Linked DNA regions of Homo sapiens: regions 1, 2 and 3 are each linked to region 4. The links are contacts of gene promoters, found by promoter capture Hi-C in blood cells and fetal thymus (Javierre and others, 2016). All regions are on one chromosome and are shown on one strand. The core of a region is centred on a gene start or on the middle of the fragment in contact, and the rest is flanking DNA. Distances in the headings are between cores, read along the strand shown. Region 1 overlaps SERBP1 (SERPINE1 mRNA binding protein 1). Region 2 holds the start of MYSM1 (Myb like, SWIRM and MPN domains 1). Region 3 has its middle 1.8 kb from the start of GADD45A. Region 4 holds the start of ATG4C (autophagy related 4C cysteine peptidase).

Region 1 (3,109 bases), core at 69-2,568, 4.6 Mb before region 4:
AGACGTGTGGAGTAAGCTGCAGGTTGGGGTGCCGCATGTCCTTTATTTGTTTCTCTTCCACCTCTCAACTGTTAGGACTTTCTCATAACTTGCTGGGGTGAGTTGAGCCGTTGGGAAATGGAGGAGTTTGGCCACACTCGATTAACCAGGAGCGGGAATTATGAATGAAGACTGGTGATTGCAGGACATCCCGAGGAACGTCCTCGAGTCACGATCCTCTCTCTCGACTCCCCAAACTGAATCTTTCACGTGGTGGGGTCTGGGCCTCGTGGGTGAAGTGAGTGCAGAGGCTGTCACAGCGTTAGTCGCAGCAGAGCTCTTTAGAGTTCGCAGTTTTTTTTTTCCACCACATGTGCGTGAAGCATGGTCAGAGTTTCACTGGCGGTTAATAGTTGTTTCTAGGGCACTGTGAGTTTCACAGGATTGTCTTGATTTTTGCATTCGCTTTACCAGTTTGTTGCGGATGAAAAAAAAGAGCAAGCAGTTTGGAGATAAGAACGTGCATGATCAATAGCAAGCAGGTGTTGGACCTAAGGTCTGAATCTTTAAAGCTGCATTTATATGTTGAAAGTTGAAATTACCCCTTCCTGCCACGTGCTTCTCTGAAAGGAGTTGTTTCTCTTTAGCTTTAGTTGAATTCTGTAACAGTGAACTAATTTTAAAAATCAAAACAATTTTCTCGTGGTAGGATTTGTTTTAGGAGGGTTTTTTTTTTTTTTTTTGAGGACTTTTGTGAGGCTCGGAATGAAGAACCTCGGTCCTAGGTGGTGAATAAAAGAAAATAATTAATTCTTGTGGTAAAATTATAGGTTGAGGAAAAATACAGTTGGAGTATTAGAAAGCATGTATATCACTTAGGCCAAGTATCTCTTCAGCCAGTTAAGCTTTATGGCAATCTAGCACAATTAAATAAATCATTTAATTCGTGTGTTAAGTAACGCTGACTTGTGTAATTATTTAAACTATGCTTAAGCTTAAGAAAGTACACGAAAAAGTTGAATCTGACGAATAATGTGTACCAGGTAGATGTGTTCACTCATTTTGAATGTTCAAAACATGAAGCATGGTTTAAATGCCTGAGTTATTTTGATCATGAAGCCCATCTATGAAATAAGCTCTTACCTGAAAAGTAGTATTTTAAGTTAACAAATGTGGGGAATGATTTCATGAAGTTAGAACCAAGACTTAGGTTCACCGTTCAATGAGTCTTTCCATGGGAAAACTATTCCATGTTAGCAATCAGCATTTTCCTTAGGTCAGTATTTCAGAGCACTACTGTTAAGTTGCATAAAATACAAGCATGTAAAATACAGGAAAAGTGTTGAATGGACAATACCCGTTTTGAGATTCTACTGTCCTGATTACTGGGAATAAATCTGTAAACAAAGTCGCTGCATGTAGTAGGAAGGTTAACCTGATTGTGTTCTGTGATTTTGATAACACATTGTGACATAATACTTGACATACTTTAGACAGATATTTAATGTTTATGTTTTATGAATTAATTTTGTACATTCTCTTGCCCATTTGAAGAACTTGAGAATTGACAGCAGAATGTCATTGAGAGTGTAGACCAGGGATTTTCTAAAAAAGAATGAATGCCTTGAAACTAGTGCAGTTAGTGAGCTTGCAAGTTATAGATAAGTATATCAAAAGAAGCTTGCATTTTTAAATGTCAGTCTTTTTCATTAGGTAGGTTTAATACGTTTTTAAGATTCTGTAAACTTGATATTGGGTGGGGACGCCAACTATTGTTCACTTGGGTGTGTTTGGCTTGGATATTATTGCAAGGACTGGTTCCATAACTCCACCCCAGTGCACTTTATTACTGATGACATTTATTTAAATACCTTGGTGTAAGGTCTAATATTTGTAGTCTATCTTGAGTATTTACAGGGAATGAACTTCAAAATTCTATTGAAGAGATTGATAGTTACTGTTTGGCTCCAGTTAACAGGCAGCAGAACAACTGGGTGTGTCTTGATGGTGTTCTACTTTCTTAGAAAGAACCAAAGTGAAGCAGCTTAAAATCTTGTAAAACCAATTCCTCAGCTGCTTTATGACTTTGTCAGAAATTGGGAATTAGAGCATACCAACAATCTTAAAGTCATTAATTTAACCATCAATCTGTTGATCCTTATGGGCACCAATAATTTAAATTGGTTGCCTTTGTGGGGTTTCAGACATTACAGGAAAAAAGTAGTAAAGGGGGAAATTAGTAAATGCTTCAGCTATCACTTAGTGTCACAAGTTTTCTTATTTCTTACATGTTGCTTAAAAGCGGTCTTAACGTGTGTGTATTTGGTTTTTAAAGATTCTTTGAAAATAAAGATAGTTGTTAGGGCAAATTTTTTAGAGGACTCTCTCCATGCATAATAAGTAACTGTTTCCTAACTTGGAAGTACTTAGGGATGTGGGAGTGTGTACAAACATATATACACTTACATGCTATAAAATTTTAAACTTTAATAGGGGAAGATGGCCCTTTTTGTGTGCCTGTAGCTAAGAAGACCAAAAGATGACACTTTTTCTGGTTAAATGGCTGTTTTAAACTGAAGTGATGTTCTCTAATAATCCTAAATGCCATATTTTCCTTTCAGATTTGTAATTTTATAGAATTATGAGTCTTAATTGCATTTTTTTTTCAGATTAGATAGAATAACATAGTGCGGCCCTCACTTTTGTGAGGGGCCATATCTAGTGAGTGTGTTGATTTGCTTGGTTATTTATGAATGGCTGCTGGTATTTTCTTTGGTATTTTAAAAGCCAAAATGTATTGCTTGCCTAAAATTTTTTAAATTTAAAAGTTTTTATTAAGAGACTATCTTGGAAAGTGACGGGAATAATGGTTGCCCAAATGATTTCCAAGTCAGTTATAGAAAATGCTTTTGAGGGGGAGAACTTGGCAAACTTAAATAGAAGTTTAAAATAAGTTTATTGTTTTTATTTTATTTATTTATGTATTTAGTCGGTGGTATGGATTGGAAGGTTTATTGTCTTTAAATGGCAGTTTTCCTAAGGTACTTTGTTACACATTAGAGTTGCCCAGTGTTTGCTTTTTTCCAACAGGAAATGGTAGTGGATTGGAAGAGAAGCAGCTTTTGACAGT
Region 2 (2,956 bases), core at 453-2,952, 4.1 Mb after region 4:
TTTGCCATCATATTCAGAGTGCAGCCTGAGAACAAAGGTGAGATGGGACAAATTGGGAATAGTGTGAGAAGTGAGGTCATTTAATTAATTAATTAATTCATTCATTCCTCTGTTCAATAGTTATTGAGCACCTGCTATGTGTCACTATGCTGAATATTGGTAGTGTAAGGACTAGCAGACGTGGTCTTTGTCCTTAAGGAATTCACAGTCCAGTGCAGAAGGCAGACGGATGAAAAATTACAAGGTGTGAGTGATAGCTGCTAAGGCAGGGGAATGCAGAAGGGTTTTTTTTTCTTTTCTTTTTTTTTGAGATGGAATCCCGCTCTGTCACCCAGGCTGGAATGCAATGGCGTGATCTCGGCTCACTGCAACCTCTGCCTCCTGGGTTCAAGCGATTCTTGTGCCTCAGCCTCCTGAGTAGCTGGGACTACAGTTGCCCACCACTACGCCCAGCTAATTTTTGTATTTTTAGTAGAAACGGGGTTTCACCATGTTGGTCAGGCTGGTCTCGAACTCCTGACCTTGTGATCCGCCCTCCCTGGCCTCCCAAAGTGCTGGGATTACAGGTGTGAGCCACCGCATCTGGCTGTCAGTATCTAATTTCTTGAGAAACTATAAACTAGACAGAAGTGGTGTTTATCCTCCAATTTCTAACAACATGATTGTTACATGGTGAGCACTCAGTAGAGGGTCAACAAAGCCTGGATTCTACTCCTGGCTCTGTCTTTGAAGCTACCTGTCCTTGGACAGTCATTTCAGCTCTCCAGGCCTCAGTTACCTCACCTGTAAAGTATAACTGGTGATATTAGCTCTGCCTACCTCACTGGGACACTGTAAGGATTAATGGTCATGAGCGTGATTTTTAAATTGCAAAGACGTCTACAAAATAAATTACACAATCATAAGTTATATTCTTAAATATTTGTTGAATTTTAAAATAAAAGTTGTTCAGCACTTAGGTGAAATGCTGAACGACTTCACATAAGTGCTGCACGACCCTTTTCTTTAAAAAACAAAGAGAGAGACTTAAATAACCAGCAGGTATGCAACCTTCAGTTCACAAAGCGGGTCTAGCTTGACTTTTTCATCAGTCCAGAAAGATACTGCTGTTATCCCCATTTTATCAGTGAGAGCAGTGAGGTCCCAAAGAATGTGTGCAAGAACAGAAGCTCTTAGAAGCTCAGGAGGGCCCGGGCGCGGTGGCTCACGCCTGTAATCTCAGAGCTTTGGGAGGCCGAGGCGGGCGGATCACCTGAGGTCGGGAGGTCGGGAGTTCGAGACCAGCTGGGCAACATGGTGAAACCCTGTATCTACTAAAAATACAAAAATTAGCCGGGCGTGGTGGCGCATGCCTGTAATCCCAGCTACTTGGGAGGCTGAGGCAGGAGAATCGCTTGAACCCGGGAGGTGGAGGTTGCAGTGAGCTGAGATACGCGCCATTGCACCCAAGCCTGGGCAACAAGAGTGAAACTCCCTCTCAAAAAAAAAAAGCTCAGGCGTGGGCCACTTCCCAAGGTCTCTACATGTCAACAAGTTAGAAAGGACCAAGCCCCAGGCCTCTGGGGGCGCCTTTGCTCTGGAAACCCCGCCTCCCGGCACGGGAGGGGCCGGACGACGCTTCAATCCCGCCCCGTGACGCGTTAGGCCCTGCCCCCGGGCCATCTTCGTCTCGCGGGATCTCTCGGGAGGACGGACGGGGTCAGGTCCCATCATGGCGGCTGAAGAGGCGGATGTGGATATCGAAGGGGACGTGGTAGCGGCGGCGGGGGCACAGCCAGGGTGAGGCTTAGAGACCGGGTCTCTCTGGGGCGGAGAGGGGAGTGGATTGAAGGAGCGGGCCCTGGGAAAGCTGCAGGTCCGGCAAGGGAAAAGGGAACAGAAGACTGTCCCCTGGGCCAGGGTCTCTTGTTGGCCTGGGAGGCACCTCGCCCGCCGGCTTGTCCCAAGCCCAGCGGGCAGGGCGGTTACCTGGAGCTCAGGTACTCCTGGGTCGCTTTCACCTTTTGCCGGATGCTGTGAGGGCACCGATTTCGCCTACCACATTGCGTTTGATTTACATTTAGATTCCTTCTTCCGTTCCCTCCTTTTCAGGATCTCATCGACAGTAACTAGAACAAGAGCGGCTACGGACGAGACCTGAGGTCAGGGACTCTTGTTCTATGGCTTGCTAGCCGTGTGACCTTGGGCGAGTCGTTTCATCCCTTCTTCCACATGGGGATAGTTGTAAAACTTCCCGAGAAGCAGGTTGACTTAAATGGGCCAGGTTTTAGAGTTGGACAGTTCTGGGTTTTCCTTCTGCATTTGCTCGCCCTACCAGTTAATAGCAATGTGACCTTGGGCAAGACACTTAACTTGTCTGAGCCTCAGACTGCTCATATTTAAACTGGGAGTCATGATATGTAATTGGGAGGATCAAATGAAATGATTATGAGATATGCTTTAGCATACGGTAGGTGCCCTCTGAATGTATTCTTTACCATCCTGTTACCCTCGGGGACAGTACTGTGAGAATCCAGTAAGGGATCACATTTTTTAAAATACCTGTTCCAGCAGAACAAACAGCCCAGTGTGATTTGACACAGAACCTCCTTTGACTCCTTGCTTTCTGAATCAAAAATGAGTCTCCTTTTAGTCATGAAGAGTCCTAGACTAGCCAGGAATCAGAAAGCCTGAGTTCTAAAGTCAGCCAGCTATGTTGTTTATAATTATGTACAATTTCCTTAGAACTGTATTAGCTTGAACCATATGAAATTGCCAATATTTAGACCATTTTTGTTCTATAAAGCGGCAACTTCATGTAGTTCAGCCTAATATTAGGGCCTCTGTGAACAGGGGAGAAGTACTAACCCAGCGCTTGAGGCACTAAGATAGTGTGTTTAGAAGTGTATCATGAACTCTAAAGCCCTATAAAGACGTGAGGGGTGATTAAACTCATATGGTCATTGTCCCTCAAAGC
Region 3 (2,773 bases), core at 25-2,524, 4.9 Mb before region 4:
GTTTTAAGGGGTGGCTATTAAAATCTATTTCCAGGGTTAATGCACTGAAGTCTAGTAATTATTAGTAAGCAGGTTACATTAAAAAAGTGTCTCCAGACCTCCGGGGCAAAGTTTACCTCAGAAGTGTTGTTTATCTAAGTCTAGGCGAAGCTGCTTATTAGCAGTAGTATTATTTCGGTGCCCTGATGGCTGGTTTGATTTATTTTTGGAAAGCTGCAAGGGTTGGAAGCTGAAAAAAGAAAAACCAACCCGTTTGTATTCAGGGATGGCAGGGAACCAAGTTAGAATCTTTTCCACAGAAAGCAGAACGGTTTCCCACCTGCCCGGTGTAACTGGGAAATCGTGAGCTGGTCTGCGTGGGGAGCTGGTGACCACATGTGGGAATCCCTGGCAACCCAGATTCTCCTTTCTCAAAGAGCCTTGCCCAAACAAGGATCCTTCTGGACGCCCACCAGCTGAGAGACAACCATCTGACACCCACACAGCCCACAAGTCTAAATTCAAAATGCTCTCGATATGCCCTAAGCTTCCTTTCCTAACGTATGTATGTCGTTACCTTCCACAGAGAGCCTCCTATGATCTCACTGTGAATTATTGATGTTAGATGCTGAATCATGAAGCTGTAACTATAGGAAGTTTTTAGTCATATGCTAAAATTTCACCTTTGAGATAATGGCAACTTGTAGGTGGAAAGCAGACCTTTAAAACTGCAAATGGTAGTTACACATTTTTGAAAAACAAACTTTAATATATAGACTCTCACTGAGTAGTTCAAAAGTCCCTTCCTTTGTTTTATGGTTTATGCAATAAAAGCAAAAACATTTCTTAAACCTACTGAAGTCATCAAAAGTGGTGAAAATGGCTCCCACATGCTTGCATTCAAAACAGTGCTTGCATTATTAAGGTTGCTGTACAGCCAAAGGTCACAGAAGTAATTTCTGCAAAGGTACCTGGAAGTTTTGCACCCTTATGTTTTTATCACTCTAGACAAAATATTCTCCAGCTCTCTTGATCTTAATTTGGTGGAAAAGAAAAGTGATAGGTTTTCTGGTTCATTTATTTGAGTTGTCATTTTGCACTCATTTTTTCACTGTGTTGTCAGCCATGGACAACATTTGAGTAAAGAAATGGTCATGGTCAGTGCATAATTCACCTAAGCATGACTATGTATCTCATATCTATGCCTTAAATCTTAACATTTGATGTCTTTCTTAAAGAATTCCTCAACATTGAAATTTAGGTAGGTTACCGAAGCATTTTCAGTTTTGCAGACAAAACCTGAATTACACAATCTAGCCTGAGTCATCATTTGGCGATTGTTAATATGTTCCGTGGAACTCCAAGGTTCTATCCACTAGGCATTTCTTAGAGGTTCTTGGGAAGAAAATGTGATCACAGCAAGCTGACAAAGAATTAGGGAATCATGTGAGTTTCTTGACAGCAAGGACTTCATCAGTTTGGTGTCCTCAGCTCCTAGTACAATACCTGCATTTAGTAGAAGCACAGTCAAGGTTTATTGAGTTGAATAGAATTTGAGAGTTAAATAAGATATCAGAATCCTGCAGTCCTGTGCATTGCATGAATTCTAACATATTGCACATTTAACGTTAGTTCAAAAACACTTTTGCCTGTCTTCTTCTATACCAAGAACTGTACAATTCCTGGTCCTTTGCCTTTAAAGAGCTTAGGCTCTTATTGGTATGTCCATGCTTGAACTGGATTTTGGGACAAAATAGTATGCACTGTCATCAGCTAGCTATGCTGAAAGTCCCATGACTTCAGTCATCTGAATGGAGGCTGTAGGACAGTAGAACCGGTGTATTGTTTACACCAATTCAAATGAACCACAGTCCTAAAGTGCCCCACCCAAGTCGACTATATCCAGTAAAAATGTGATATCAAATGGTTACTTCTTATTATAGGCTTAGTCCTCCACTCAAAAATTATACTGCATGCTATATTTGACTTCATCAGAAAGTTATTTGCCCAAGTATTTTGGGGATTTTCTCTGAGATAAGCTTGGGCTTCCAGTATGCAAAAATATTCATTTGTCATACTTTCTGACTCAGATACGTTACATCATTTTGCCTGATTGCTGAGTATACCTAGAATGTTTTCTCAGTGATTATCTTCAAAGTTGGGCCTCATGACTGGAAGTAAAAACTGCATTTAGCTACACAGTTAGATTGTAGTTACACATTAGAATGGACATAGTTGATTTATCATTAACTGTTTATTAGTCCTGGAGGACATTGATAGTCAATGGTAAATCAGAGAAATTTTCCTATATCAATATTATATATATATATATATTTCTTTATAATCAGTGTGATAACTCCAATATGTGATGTCATTTTAAAAACCACTACAGGTAACTCTGACAACTGCCAAGTACACAGGAGTAGAATGCTCTTGTAGTAATGTTTGTAAAGATACCAAATGATTATATTTAGAAATCATATGGAAATATATACTCAAGAATTGTTCAATTATTTTAGCACTGCTACTTGCTTTGCATATTAAAGATCTTTTTGATATTTTAGTCATGCTTATCCTACATACATTCCTACTACTGGTTCCATAATGCAGAATTATTCTTTCTTTCTTTCAAAAAACAATCAATGCTTTAACATCTGAAAGAAATATAATGCTTGTTATTTCAGTATTAGATCATTGTCCACATCAAAGGAGAAGATCAGTTCAACTATGATGGATGTATTTTCCACCTACCTAGAATTGTATTGTATTATTTTTTCTTGTTAAAAATCATAAG
Region 4 (3,023 bases), core at 48-2,547:
TTATACAATTCTTTAGATGGGCCACTTTTTGACATGTGGTTCTAAAAATTTTATAGCGAATGAACTGGTAATTCAATATAGCCTCAGATTATTGGACTAAATAGAAACTCTTCCTGTTCAAAGAAGAAGCTTTATCAATTTGAAACTCAGAAAATACATAGACTTTACCTTTCAAAGCCTTTCCACTCCCTCTGGGTATTCTCAATGGCTCATAATCTAATTACAAGTCACAAGCAAGCAAGAAGATCATTCCCTTGTCTCTTTCTGCCATCAACTGACACAAAATCATTGCCAAAAACCCACCGGGGACATATGGTCCGAGCAGGAAAACATAAGAAAACTCCTAAGTAATTCGGATATAAAAAGATGTAAGACGAGGTATTCTTCTGTAACTATAGGGTAGCAGTGAGCCCCATGTGGGTAAATAACCAATACAAAACGAAAAGGTAAGCCAAAGAAATCACAAGAAATATAAACTCAATAAGCAGTGATGCTGAGTTGACCGCTGAAGGTTCTCATATATGAATATAGTCATCATATGTAAGAATTTATTCTACACCTCCAACCTCAAAAGCCCTTAGATGTGGGTAGGGTTGGGAGAGTTCACGGTGAGCGGGAACCAAATGAAGTGAATGAACGTTAATATTTAGATGGAAAGGCATTAATATATGCAAGGCAGTGTGTTATGGCTTGAAGCAGTAACAAACACCAAAAAGGGAGAAAGAGGCTAGGAATGAGAACAGAGAGACAGTGGGGATCCAGTTATTATTATTATTTCCCTTTTTTTATTTTTTAAACGAGGAAAAACAGGGCCGACAGAGCACTGGCATGAGGAGGGGTCAAATGGATGCGATAGATCAGGGGAAAGAGTCTTGCCTGCAACATCTAAGAAAACCACAAGGAAAGGAGGAACAGCTGCCCACAGTTAGGCTTACGGTTTATCTCTGCAACCCAGGACAAAGCGAGGAAGAGTTAGAAGACAAATGACACTAGAAAGGAGAGACAAGGAAGGCGCCAAAACCCTCAGAGAACCCAGATGGTTGGCCACAGGGTCTTCACTGAAGGCGGACCCCCGCAAGAAACCCAGTCATTCGGGGACCAGAGACGCTAAGTCCCAAACTTCTTGACTCCTTTAGCCTCAAGCCGATCCCTCACCGAAAGAGAAGGACTGGAGAACTGTAAAAATGTGCAGGAGCCACCAACCCGGCAAATGCTCCAGCTCTAGCAGCAGCCGCCACAAAACCAGCCCGCACACACGCAGACGTTCCGACCTCAGCGCCGCAGCTACAGGTACTTTGAGCACCCCGGCCACCGTAGTAAGAGGAACCGCCTCCGCGTCAAATCCAACAGATCAGCCACTTCCGGGATACGAAAGCCTTGCGATTGGCAGTAGCGATAGCAGCGGCGTAAAGGCCTCTGCTATGCTTACTTTATCCATCCCTTTTTCCCACCTGTTCGCCACCCCAAGCCGCTAATCCACCAATGCAGCAAGCGCAGAACCAAGAGAAAGTATCCGTCTGTGAGCATTGTCTCTCTGATAGACAAACCACATTACGGCTGCCATAAATTCCTCTCGAGCACTTGGACTTCAACTACCAGCAGGCCATGCAGCATCACGCCCTTGCCTCTGGCGTAGGAACTGCAAGATCCAGCATGCATTGCGGCCCTCCTTCCTCGCACTCAGGACCAAGATAGAGCCAACCCAAGCCTCACTTTGATTTAAAAAAAAAAAAAAAAAAAAAGCCAGGATGCCTTCTTTTCCTGTTGTGAAGGAACTCTAAGCCAAGCCATTATTAGGACTGTAGGTTATTTATAAAACATCAAGGGATATGTGCACTCATTTTCCATATTCAGATTATTTTCAAGCATTAAAACACAGGACAGTCGGGCGCGGTGGTTCGCGTCTGTAATCCCAGCACTTTGGGAGGCCGAGGCGGGTGGATCGCTTGAGGTTGGGAGTTCGAGACCAACCTGGCCAACATGGTGAAAGCCCGTCTCTGTTAAAAAATTAAAAAATTAGCCGGGCGTGGCGGCGGGCGCCTGTAATTCCAGCTACTCGGGAGCCTGAGGCAGGAGAATTGCTTGAACCCGGGAGGCAAAGGTTGCAGTGAGCAGAGATCGCGCCACTGCACTCCAGCCTGGGCGACAGAGCGAGGCTTTGTGGGGAAAAAAAAAAAAAAAAGAAGGAAAAGAAAAAGAAAGAAAGAAAAAAGGACGGTCCGAAGATGCTTTTTATAACGTGGAAATTTTTGGCCAGGCGCGGCGGCTGACGCCTGTAATCCCAGCATTTTGGGAGGCCGAGGCGGGCGGATCACTTGAGCCCAGGAGTTCCAGACCAGCCTGGCCAACATGGTGAAATCCCGTCTCTACTAAAAATATAAAAAATTAGCCGGGTGCGGTGGCGCGCGCCTGTAGTCCCAACTACTCAGGAGGCTGAGGCGGGAGAATCGCTTGAACTCGGGAGGCGGAGTTTTCAGTGAGCCAAGATTGTGCCTCTGCACTCCAGCCTGGGCGACAGAGCAAGACCCTGTCTCAAAAAAGTAAAAATAAATAAATAAATAAATAAATAAGTGGAAATTTTTATCTTCACTCCTAAATGATGTCAAGAGAAATACTGTTACTGTAAAATGTAATCCTATGCCGTTTTACAGTACCGCAGATTTTGTTGGAGCAAGGACTACCAGACATGCTTCTGAATTACATAGGAAATTATACTAAAAACTAAAAATAAAATATGAAGTCTATGCCACCGGACTATGAAACCACATGGGAATGAAAACCTTCAAGAATGAAGAGTTGAAAAGTTCAAAATTAAACTTGAAATTTTTTCAATTTTTTAGTGGATTTGGTGGTTTAAATTTTTTTTTATTCTCACAGAAACAGGTAGCTGGATCTATTTATTTTTTATTCATGTACTTGGACAGCTAAATAACAAAACAACAAACAAAGGATATGATAAGATCACAAATGGCACACTTATTAGAGTGAGCAAAGTAGTTTTCTTGCATGATTCCATAGCTTGT

What was found. Contacts are between HindIII fragments. The CHiCAGO score rates a contact against its expected background, and 5 or more counts as called.
Region 1: a fragment that was not itself captured here is called in contact with the fragment with the promoter of ATG4C in region 4 in 1 of 17 cell types (non-activated CD4 T cells); the score reaches 7.3 in non-activated CD4 T cells.
Region 2: a contact is called between the fragment with the promoter of MYSM1 here and the fragment with the promoter of ATG4C in region 4, in 1 of 17 cell types (naive CD4 T cells). The highest score is 5.2, in naive CD4 T cells.
Region 3: a fragment that was not itself captured here is called in contact with the fragment with the promoter of ATG4C in region 4 in 3 of 17 cell types (total CD8 T cells, non-activated CD4 T cells and naive CD8 T cells); the score reaches 6.8 in total CD8 T cells.

The regions. Positions count from the first base shown.
Region 1 is chr1:67,426,349-67,429,457 of GRCh38, reverse strand. All of the region lies in intron 1 of SERBP1 (SERPINE1 mRNA binding protein 1), which reads left to right. Among named protein-coding and RNA genes, the nearest start is that of SERBP1, 2.5 kb to the left of the region's middle. RefSeq lists an enhancer at 1-519. The HindIII fragment of the contact is 686 bases long and covers 976-1,661 here.
Region 2 is chr1:58,698,808-58,701,763 of GRCh38, reverse strand. It overlaps MYSM1 (Myb like, SWIRM and MPN domains 1), which reads left to right and starts at 1,702. Exons shown (of 20, transcript NM_001085487.3): 1 at 1,702-1,779. The coding sequence starts at 1,712. RefSeq lists enhancers at 1,528-1,937, 2,148-2,207. The HindIII fragment of the contact is 3,791 bases long and covers 1-2,956 here.
Region 3 is chr1:67,682,047-67,684,819 of GRCh38, reverse strand. No RefSeq gene overlaps it. Among named protein-coding and RNA genes, the nearest start is that of GADD45A, 1.8 kb to the left of the region's middle. RefSeq lists a cis regulatory region at 1,718-2,210. The HindIII fragment of the contact is 1,492 bases long and covers 529-2,020 here.
Region 4 is chr1:62,782,406-62,785,428 of GRCh38, reverse strand. ATG4C (autophagy related 4C cysteine peptidase) reads right to left here and starts at 1,297. Exons shown (of 11, transcript NM_032852.4): 1 at 1,156-1,297. RefSeq lists a silencer at 817-1,111 and enhancers at 1,087-1,266, 1,387-1,446, 1,547-1,596. The HindIII fragment of the contact is 3,523 bases long and covers 132-3,023 here.